2 separate regions of the Homo sapiens genome follow, and region 1 is linked to region 2. Evidence: promoter capture Hi-C in 16 types of primary human blood cells and fetal thymus (Javierre and others, 2016). All regions are on one chromosome and are shown on one strand. The core of a region is centred on a gene start or on the middle of the fragment in contact, and the rest is flanking DNA. Distances in the headings are between cores, read along the strand shown. Region 1 has its middle 3.7 kb from the start of EIF1. Region 2 holds the start of KRTAP4-12 (keratin associated protein 4-12).

Region 1 (5,295 bases), core at 1,142-3,641, 560 kb before region 2:
ATTGTGCTAGATCTTTTTCAAGAGTGCCAGGAAATCCAGGTGTTTACATAAAATCTCTTGATTTTTAAATATTGCCAATAAATTGATTTTTTTTTTGAGACAGAGTCTCACTTTGTCGCCGAGGCTGGAGTGCAGTGGCACTGTGTCGGCTCACTGTAACCTCCGTCTCCTGGGTTCAAGCAATTCTTCTGCCTCAGCCTCCCGAGTAGTTGGGGTTACAGGCATCCACCACCACGCCCGGCTAGTTTTTTAAAAATATTTTTAGTAGAGATGGGTTTTCACCATGTTGGCCAGGCTGGTCTTGAACTCCTGACCTCAGGTGATCTGCCTGCCTCGGCCTTCCAAAGTGCTGGGATTACAGGAATAAATTGAATTTTTGATACAACACTGCAAGCCAAACAAAAATATGCATGCCCATGGACTGCTGGTTTATGTCCCTGACAGTCAGGGTCACTGCCCTTGTGGAGTTGAAGGCCAGCGGGAGAGAGAGCCACTAAACAAATAATAAGATAATGAGGCTGGGCGCTGTGGCTTATGCCTGTAATCCCAGCACTTTGGGAGGCTGAGGTGGGCGGATCACCCGAGGTCAGGAGTTCGAGACCAGCCTGGCCAATATGGTGAAACCCTGTCTCTACTAAAAATACAAAAATTAGCTGGGCGTGGTGGCGTGTGCCTGTAGTCCCAGCTACTCGGGAGGCCGAGGCACAATAATTATTTGAACCCGGGAAGAGGAGACTGCAGTGAGCCAAGATGGCGCCATTGCACTCCAGCCTGGGCGACAGAGCAAGACTATGTCTCAAAAAAAAAAAAAAAAGGATAATGACAGATTGTGAGAGGTGCCAAAAAGGAGGTAAACAGGGTGATGTGAAAGGGCCAGGCTCCTTCAGATGGGGTGGTCAGAGAAGGCCTCTGGGGAGGCAGCATTCTGGCTGACAGAGGGTAGGAAGGAGTCCACTGTGGGGCAGGGCATGTGCCCACCAGAAAACTCAGAAAAACTCTGAGGGAGGAAATGCTAGGTGTACCTGATATATATATGTGTATGTGTGTGTATATATATATATATGTATATGAGTGTGTGTATATATGTGTGTGTGTGTATTTGTGTATATATGTATATATATATGTATGTGTATATATATATATATATAGACAAGGTCTCACTCTGTCACCCAGACTGGCTGGAATGCAGTGGCATGATCATGGCTTACTGCAGCCTCAACTGCTTAAAGCAGTCCCCCTGCCTTGGCCTCCTAAAGTGCTGGGATTACAGGCAGGAGCCAGTGTGCCTGGCCTGATACTTTGTTTTGATTCTATATTTACTAAATAAACTTGATTAATAGTTTGGTTTCCTTGACATCAGGAAGGAGGAACCATGGCTAGGTCATGGGCATCCCAGTCTCATGGTCTTCCCCTTTTGAGAAGCTAAGGCCCCAGTCAGCCAACTTGGGAACCTTTACTATCAGGCAAAATTCACCCCCGACATTTCACGTAGGTTCTTCTCTATTTTCCTTAAGTGTTGGCTGGTCCGAGAAATAAAGGGACAGAGTACAAAAGAGAGAAATTTTAAAGCTGGGTGTCCGGGGGAGACATCACATGTCGGCAGGTTCCATGATGTCCCCCAAGCCGCAAAACCAGCGAGTTTTTATTAGTGATTTTCAAAAGGGGAGGGAGTGTACGAATAGGGTGTGGGTCACAGAGATCATGTGCTTCACAAGGTAATAAGATATCACAAGGCAAATGGAGGCAGGGCAAGACCACAGGACCACAGGACCGGGGCGAAATTAAAATTGCTAATGAAGTTTCAGACACACATTGTCATTGATGATATCTTATCAGGAGACAGGGTTTGAGAACAGACAACCGGTCTGACCAAAATTTATTAGGCGGGAATTTCCTCGTCCTAATAAGCCTGGGAGCGCTACAGGAGACCGGGGCTTATTTCATCCCTCAGCGATGACCGTAAAAGACAGCTGTCCCCAAAGTGGCCATTTCAGAGGCCTCCCTCAGGGACGCATCCTCTTTCTCAGGGATGTTCCTTGCTGAGAAAAAGAATTCAGCGATATTTCTCCCATTTGCTTTTGAAAGAAGAGAAATATGGCTCTGTTCTGCCCGGCTCACGGGCAGTCAGAGTTTAAAGTTATCTCCTTTGTTCCCTGAACATTGCTGTTATCCTGTTCTTTTTTCAAGGTGCCCAGATTTCATATTGTTCAAACACACAAGCTCTACAAACAATTTGTGCAGTTAATGCAATCATCACGGTCCTGAGGCTACATACATCCTCCTCAGCTTATGATGACAGGATTAAGAGATTAAAGTAAAGACAGGCATAGGAAATCCCAAGGGTATTGATTGGGGAAGTGATAAGTGTCCATGAAATCTTCACAATTTATGTTCAGAGATTGCAGTAAAGACAGGCGTAAGAAATTATAAAAGTATTAATTTGGGGAACTAATAAATATCCATTAAATCTTCACAATTTATGTTCTTCTGCCATGGCTTCAGCGGGTCCCTCTGTTGGGAGTCCCTGACATCCCACAACACTTTGCCCTGACGGACATTGTTCTGCTGGAAAGGGTTTTGGGAGAGAGTTTGAATGAATGAATTGGAGCTGTCCTTCCCAGTGTGCATGCAATATTTTGTCACACTAAAATATTTTTTGAGACAGAATCTCGCTTTGTCGTCCAGGCTGTAGTGAAGTGGTGCGATCTTGGCTCACCACAGCTTTCACCTCCTGAGTTCAAGCTATGCTTCTGCCTCAGCCTCCCAAGTAACTGAGATTACGGGCAGGTGCCACCATGCCCAGCTAATTTTTGTATTTTGGGTAGAGAAGGGGTTTTACAACATTGCCCAGGCTGGTCTTGAACTCCTGACCTCAAATGATCCGCCCGCCTTGGCCTCCCAAAGTGCTGGGATTACAGGTGTGAGCCACAACACCCGGCCAAGACTCAGTTCTTTTTTTTTTTTTTTTTTTGAGACAGGGTCTGGCTTTGTCACTTAGGCTGGAGTGCAATGGTGCCATTATAGCTTATTGCAGACTTGAACTCCTAGGCTCAAGTGATCCGTTTCAGCCTCCTGAGTAGCTGGGACTACAGGCATGTGCTACCATAGCCAGCTAATTTTTTAAATTTTTGGTAGAGATGAGGTCTCACTATGTTGCCCAGGCTGGTCTTGAACTGCTAGGCTCAAGTAATCCTTTACCTCGGCCTCCCAAAGTGCTGGGATTACAAGCATGAGCCACCGCACCAGGCCTGAGACTCAGTTCTTGACTTGCCACCAGCTTTGTGGGTGACCTGGTTTACCTCTTGGCTTCAGTTGTATGCCCCATAAAAGGAGCACTGGGTGATCTCTTCCTGGGTCTGAAGTCTGAAGCGCTGTTTTCCCAAGTTGGGAGCATTTCCAGAAGGGTCTTCCGAAGTCTACCTTCCAGTGTGGGAGGTTACCCCAGCCCCAGGAGCCTGAGGAGTAATCATGGAGGCAGGAGTAATTAGTTTGAAAGTGGCATGCATGCCTGCTGTTAATGCTGGCTTCTTTATTAGTGTGCTCCTGGCTTTGAGATGCTGTCACCTGGGCAGCCAAGGGCAGGGTACAAAGCACAGGCTCTGGAGTGTCTGTATCTGAATATCATCTCCATCTTGTTGCCTGGGCGACTTAGCCCCTCCCAGCCTGCATTTTCTCCTCTGTACGACAGAGACAATAATGCCCTTCTCATAGGCTGTTGAGGGGATTTAAAGAGGAGACTATGTACAGCCGGATAAAAATGTAAAGTTATGAAACCACTATATAGATTATACCAGTTTCCCAGAGGGGAAGGGAGAGAGAGAGCCTCCGAGAGCAGCAGGGGACAGGAGTGAGCCCCTCTGAATGAGGATGGGACAGAGGTGGGCACCTCTCCATGGTGATCTCCTTGGGATGTGACAAGGGCATGGCTGTGTAGGACACCTTGGGACCCTCGACCTCAATAAGATTCTCCAAGGCCACCAACGTGGCACGGAAGCAGCAGAATCTCCCTCCAGGAAGGGATTGCACCCTCTGGGAAAATAGACATCTCCATGGTAACCAAGGCAGATAGATGATCTGGTCTAGGGGCTCCTTGTAGCTCTGGTGCTCTAGAAAACCTTGTGAGCGAGAGAGAATCCTGGGGAGGGCTGGAGCCCCTGTCATTTCCAAGGCTGGATTTCTGAGCAGCCCAGTGGGATGTTAATTGGCAAGGATCTCACTTGATTTAAAGAAAGTCCAATTAATGCCACATTTCTTGCATTCCTTATTTGGGACTTAACGACCCACGTATGTAAGTGACTAGAATAGTTCCCCCTCCCCCGCTCCCATGCACATAGAAGGTCCCAGTGAATGAAGGCTGCTGTTCTTACCACTTGGAGAAGGAGGGAGACCCGGGCCTGTTGCAGCTTGATCTGCAGCCTGCACAGGGTAATGATGAGATGTGCAGGTCGGGCATCAGCTGGGGTTCTGCTGGCAATACATCAATTCTTCAAACCTGCCTAGGGTAGATGCTGGGAAGGGACATGGGGGAAACTTTTTTTTTTTTCTTTTTTGAGATGATATCTCACTCTGTCTCCCAGGCTGGAGTGTAGTGGTGCGATCTTGGCTCACTGGAACATCCGCCTTCCGGGTTCAAGTGATCCTCCCGCTTCAGCCTCCCAAGTAGCTGGCATTACAGGCACCCACCACCACGCCTTGCAAATTTTTGTATTTTTAGTAGAGATGGGGTTTCACCATGTTGGTCAGGCTGGTCTCGAACTCCTGACCTCAAGTGATCTGCCTGCCTTGGCCTCCCAAAGTGTTGGGATTACAGGCGTGAGCCACTGCGCCACGCCCGGCCTGACATGGGGGAACCTTATGGGGTGCTGGAAATGACCTTCCTCTTGATCCAGGTGGCAAAAATCTATTGAGCTGTACCCTTATGGCTAGTGTGTGTTGTGTGTGTATGGCGGTTATATTTTACCGCCACCTCCCAACCCGGCCAGCCTTTCTTCTTGTTCTTACTTTCCCTCCCCTTGCCAGGGACCCACTTATGCCAACCCACGGTGGGGACTTGGCTCAGTTCCTCTTTGCCTCTTTGCTGGCAGAGCATCTGTCTTCCCCATCCTGCTTCCCACTCCTTCCCCTCCTCTCTTTCCTCCTTTTTCAGGGAGTCCTGCAGGAGCTCCTATAGATGGGGGGAAACTTCATTTAGGAAGGGAGATAAAGACCAGAGCCCTTGGTTCCTCTTCCCCGGGCAGGGCCATCCAGGTGGCCCAACTGCGGACTCAACTGCCGAGGTGGGTGGGAGAGGATACA
Region 2 (5,192 bases), core at 593-3,092:
CCACAGATGCATGCCACCTCGCCATTTTTTTTTTTTTTTTTGCTTTTTTTTGTTTTTTTGGTAGAGATGGGGTTTTGCCAAGTTAACCAAGTTGGTCTCAAATTCCTAACCTCAAACAATCCGCCTGCCTTGGCATCCCAAAGTGCTGGGATTACAGGTGTGAGCCACCGTGTCCAGTCTCAGAAGTCTTTTATATACTATTAACCCTTTGTCCGTGATATTAATTGCTAGTTCTTTTTTTATTATTTAGTCATTTGTGTTTTTACTTTGTTTATGATGGTTTCTTACCATACATTTTTTTTTTTTAAATTTTACTTTAAGTTTTGGGATACATGTGCAGAACATGCAGGTCTGTTACATAGTTATACATATGCCATGATGGTTTGCTGCACCTATCAATCCGTCATCTGGGTTTTAAGCCCGACATGCATCAGGTATTTGTCCTAATGCTCTCCCTCCCCTTGTCCCTCACCCCCGACAGGCTCCAGTGTGTGATGTTCCCCTCCCTGTGTCCATGTGATCTCATTGTTCAACTCCCACTTAGGAGTGAGAACATACCTTGCATCTTTTTAATTATAAATAATTGTTTTTAAATATCAGGAGGGATTTAATTGCAAAATGTTCATGCGCAAAATGTTCCTTGAACACTCTAGGAGAGACGCCCTTTCCCTGTTACAGACTGTGTGACTTCAATCTATCTGGGCCTCAAGTACCTTGGATGTAAAGAATTTAGAAAAATTGTGTCTACATAGCAGAATCCTTGTGAAGTATAAACAAGATAACAATTATAGAGGACTCAGAAAATTCCTGACACATAGTAAGCACTCAAAAAATTATAACTATTAGTATTGTTTCATCTTTCATTGGAAGTGTACAGATTAAATACATAATTGTTATTTTGTTCACTAATCACACCATTCTCTAAATAGTTGCTAAATTCTTTCCTATACATGTTTCTTATTTGTCTTGTTTAAGCTTCTGTAGGACAGAAATTAAACTTGATCCTTTGTTTCTTTTCTCCATGTATCAAGCAAAATATCTCCAACATACATTGTGAGAAAAAGCAGCTTTCGAGTATGAGAAAATCTACTTTCAATAACACTTCAGTTAAACACATTCAGTGGGTATCTTGACTTACCAACAAAATAGAACAAAAATGTTCCTTATGATCCCCATCTCTGAAGAACATGCCAACAATAATTTATAAAGGGACCTATCATGCCAATGTATTTTTACTTGTAAAGCAATGAATCATTGCATTATATCTGTTTCAAGCTAAATAGAGTCAATAACATGAAACAGGAATTTCAGTGGGATCTTTTATATCTCACTGACCAGCCACAAAATTCAAAGGAATCACAGTGTTCCTTATTATACACAAGTTACCTCCTATCACCCCCCAAAGATGAATCTTTCATCACATTTTCCTACCAGCATTCTATGTAATTTATTTTTAACCTCTTTGAGAGCAGAGGAGATTTAGTCATCATAAAATCTATTTTCAACTTATTATCCAGGAGTCAAATAAATAAAGAATTAACTTATGAAATCCAATCAAACAATGTCATGTAATGGGTCTACACATCAGAAGACACATCAGATGAAGGAAGGAGAATGAGAGCTGATTCACTTGGCTTAACCAAATTGGATAGCTCAGAATACAACAGGAAAAGGAAATGTTGCCTTTTCTATTTATAGAAATATTTACCAGATAAGGACAACTATCTAATTTACTAAAAAACAACTGATTCTCTATTAGTAATGTGCAAACCACAAGATTATTCACATTGTCATAGTGGTTCTCAGCAGGGTATAAAAAGCAAAAGAGAGAACAAGGAGAGATCAAACTCAGAACACTCACTCTCCTGGAAACCCACCGAGAACCTCCACCCTCTGACACCATGGTCAACTCCTGTTGTGGCTCTGTGTGCTCTGACCAGGGCTGTGGCCTGGAGAACTGCTGCCGCCCCAGCTGCTGCCAGACCACCTGCTGCAGGACCACCTGCTGCCGCCCCAGCTGCTGTGTGTCCAGCTGCTGCAGGCCCCAGTGCTGCCAGTCTGTGTGCTGTCAGCCCACCTGCTGCCGCCCCAGCTGCTGTCAGACCACCTGCTGTAGGACCACCTGCTGCCGCCCCAGCTGCTGTGTGTCCAGCTGCTGCAGACCCCAGTGCTGCCAGTCTGTGTGCTGCCAGCCCACCTGCTGCCGCCCCAGCTGCTGTCAGACCACCTGCTGCAGGACCACTTGCTGCCGCCCCAGCTGCTGTGTGTCCAGCTGCTGCAGACCCCAGTGCTGCCAGTCTGTGTGCTGCCAGCCCACCTGCTGCCGCCCCAGCTGCTGCATCTCCAGCAGCTGCTGCCCCTCTTGCTGTGAATCCAGCTGCTGCCGCCCCTGCTGCTGCCTGCGTCCAGTCTGTGGCCGAGTCTCCTGCCACACCACTTGCTATCGCCCAACCTGTGTCATCTCCACCTGCCCCCGCCCCTTGTGCTGTGCCTCCTCTTGCTGCTAAATCTCTGCTGTGAACACACCACTTCCTTATTACGTCCTTTCCTACAGATGAAGGCTCTCATTGCAAACATGCGGACTGTTCAAGAGAATTGATCTGGGTCCCATAAGCAAACCTCATCCTTAGAAATTCTGTATTTGCATTCTACCTTTTGTCCAAACTCCCTTCCTTCCAAAGGAATTCATTGACAATCTCCTAATAAATTGACAAATTGTCCTCCAACATCCTCCCACCTCTTTGACTTCAGGACATTTATTCATCATGCCTAAGGAATTTGAAGATTGCCTCCATCATTTGTAGGGCCACAGATCTTAAAGCCTCCAACCTTGAAGTCCAGTGAAGTCTCTCTCTTAAAGTCTTTTGCAAACATTTTTGTACCTTGTTATTTCCATGTACCAAAATAAACCTCTATTCTATTGGCACTGAAAATTGAATATGATTCTTATTCTCTTTTTAAAAAGGGTTTTATATTTAGGTCCTGGGTGATTACATTTAACTACACCTGTAGGGCTCACAGCACAGATTAGTCAACCTTCTAACAGAGGTCAACTGACATCGATCACTGCCTAGTTTTTTTCTAGAAAAGTCTTTTCAGGCTTAGGCAAATCAATTAGTCATTTTGTATTCTTTAGACAAAAAGAGTGAAGCTGAAGTCATGAAATATCCATGAATATAACAACAGGGGAAACGTTTTGAAAGATTGATCACAACTCATCATCTTTTAAAAAATAATTTCAACTTTTATTTTAGAATCAAAGAGTACATATTCGTATTTGTTACATGTTGTGTGATGCTGAGGTTTGGGCTACAAATGATTCTGTCACCAGGTACTGAGCAGTGGGTCATTTTTAGCCCTTCCTCTCTCCCTCTCTCCCCCCTTTTTGGAGTCCCCAATTGTTCTCATCTTTGTGTCCATGTGTATCCAATGTTTAGCTCCCATTTGTAAGTGACAACATGCAATATTTGGTTTTCTGTTCCTGGAAAAATTTGCTTAAGATAATGTCCTCCAGCCACATCCATGTTGCTGCAAAGGACAAAATTTCATTCTTTTTTATGGCTGTGTAGTATTCCATGGTGTGAAAATGTCACATGTTCTTTATCCAATGCACTGTTGATGGGCACCTAGACTGATTCCATGTCTTTACTATTGTGCACAGAGCTGTGATCTTTTAAAACACTGTATTTCAATTTCTTTTTTTTTCCAGTAAAAGCAGCTATTAGGTGGTTTAGCAAAGTCCATGTATTTTCTACTGAGTCATGTGTAATGAATCCTCAACACAAACACAGTGGATCTCCTTCATTCTGACTGGCAGAGTTTCAATGGGGAGTTCATGCTGCCATGTAGAGAGGGCCACCTTCACGGCCAGGCAGGTGATGGAAATGAAGGAAGCAGGCCTAGTGAAAACTCACAGGTATGCTGGAGACTGATTTTTTTTCTTTTCGTCCAAAGTCATGCCCTTTTTTTAGGATGAAACTATAAAGACCCACATTTCTCCCCAACTAGGGATGCCTCTAATGGGTCATCTCATCTCCAGAACTCCCTATAGGTTCATCTGAGACTTCCACGGAGATTGCCCTGCAGTTTGATTTATCCCAGTGTCAAACTTGATCTTTCTCTCACTTTCCCTTCCTTTCCCTTCCCTTCCCTTCCCTTCCCTTCCCTTCCCTTCCCTTCCCTTCCCTTCCCTTCCCTTTCCCTCCCCTTCCCCTTCCCTTTCCCTTTCCCCTCCCCTCCCTTTCCCCTCCCCTGCCCTCCCCAGTGTTAATCCCAAGAGCATGCTTCAATAAACCTCCTGCATATTGCTCTCCATCTCAGTGACTGCTTCCTGGGGAACCCAGCCTGTCCCCCAAAACAATTTGAAATTCATGATAGCTAATTTGAGAGCTCAAATGACTGACTGAAATGTACTTTTAATATTTTAGTTCCTGAAAGAAATAAGAATGTAAACATAATAGCAGAAAATATATTTAACAGAATATGTAGAAAAATTATGAATTTTATATAAATCACATTTATTATTTTCTAAGGATGTTTAGATCATTTATACACAAATATATGCTCTTTAAACATTTAGACAATACAAAAGAATGTGACAATGTGAACAAAAGTAAGTTTCCCATCATGATCTTTGCCAATCCCATTCAATACCTAATGTTGCAAATTGAGATACATCCTCATTAAATGCATGCATAAAACATGTATGTATTTATTTGAAAACTTGGCTTTCGTTGCACATCTCTTGTTCTGACATTTATTCAAACATTATTTTATGTCCTTCCGGAAATGTTAACATTTTCCTTCACAAAGGCTTGGCAGATTTATTTACATATTTTTCTATTTACTCTTGAGAACTGTGAGTACATGCTTCTTTTTTTTTTTATTATACTTTAAGTTCTAGGGTACATGTGCACAACGTGCAGGTTTGTTACATATGTATACATGTGCCATGTTGGTGTGCTGCACCCATTAACTCGTCATTTACATTAGGTATTTCTCCTAATGCTATCCCTCCTCCCTCCCCCCACCCCACGACAGGCCCCAGTGTGTGATTTTTCTCCATTAAATTTTAGAGAGAATTATTGCTAGTGTATAAAAAGTCTATGGATTAGTATAAGTTCATATTTTATCTGATCTCGCGATTCACACTAATACCCAGCTGACTCTACAGGATTTTACAGGTGTGCAAT

What was found. The method cuts DNA at HindIII sites, captures the fragments that hold promoters and counts their contacts. A CHiCAGO score of 5 or more calls a contact.
Region 1: a fragment that was not itself captured here is called in contact with the fragment with the promoter of KRTAP4-12 in region 2 in 2 of 17 cell types (naive CD4 T cells and naive CD8 T cells); the score reaches 6.6 in naive CD4 T cells.

The regions. Positions count from the first base shown.
Region 1 is chr17:41,682,578-41,687,872 of GRCh38, reverse strand. No RefSeq gene overlaps it. Among named protein-coding and RNA genes, the nearest start is that of EIF1, 3.7 kb to the left of the region's middle. The HindIII fragment of the contact is 6,365 bases long and covers 1-5,295 here.
Region 2 is chr17:41,120,832-41,126,023 of GRCh38, reverse strand. KRTAP4-12 (keratin associated protein 4-12) reads left to right here and starts at 1,842. Exons shown (of 1, transcript NM_031854.3): 1 at 1,842-2,933. The coding sequence starts at 1,902. The coding sequence ends at 2,507. RefSeq lists an enhancer at 2,162-2,715. The HindIII fragment of the contact is 5,176 bases long and covers 978-5,192 here.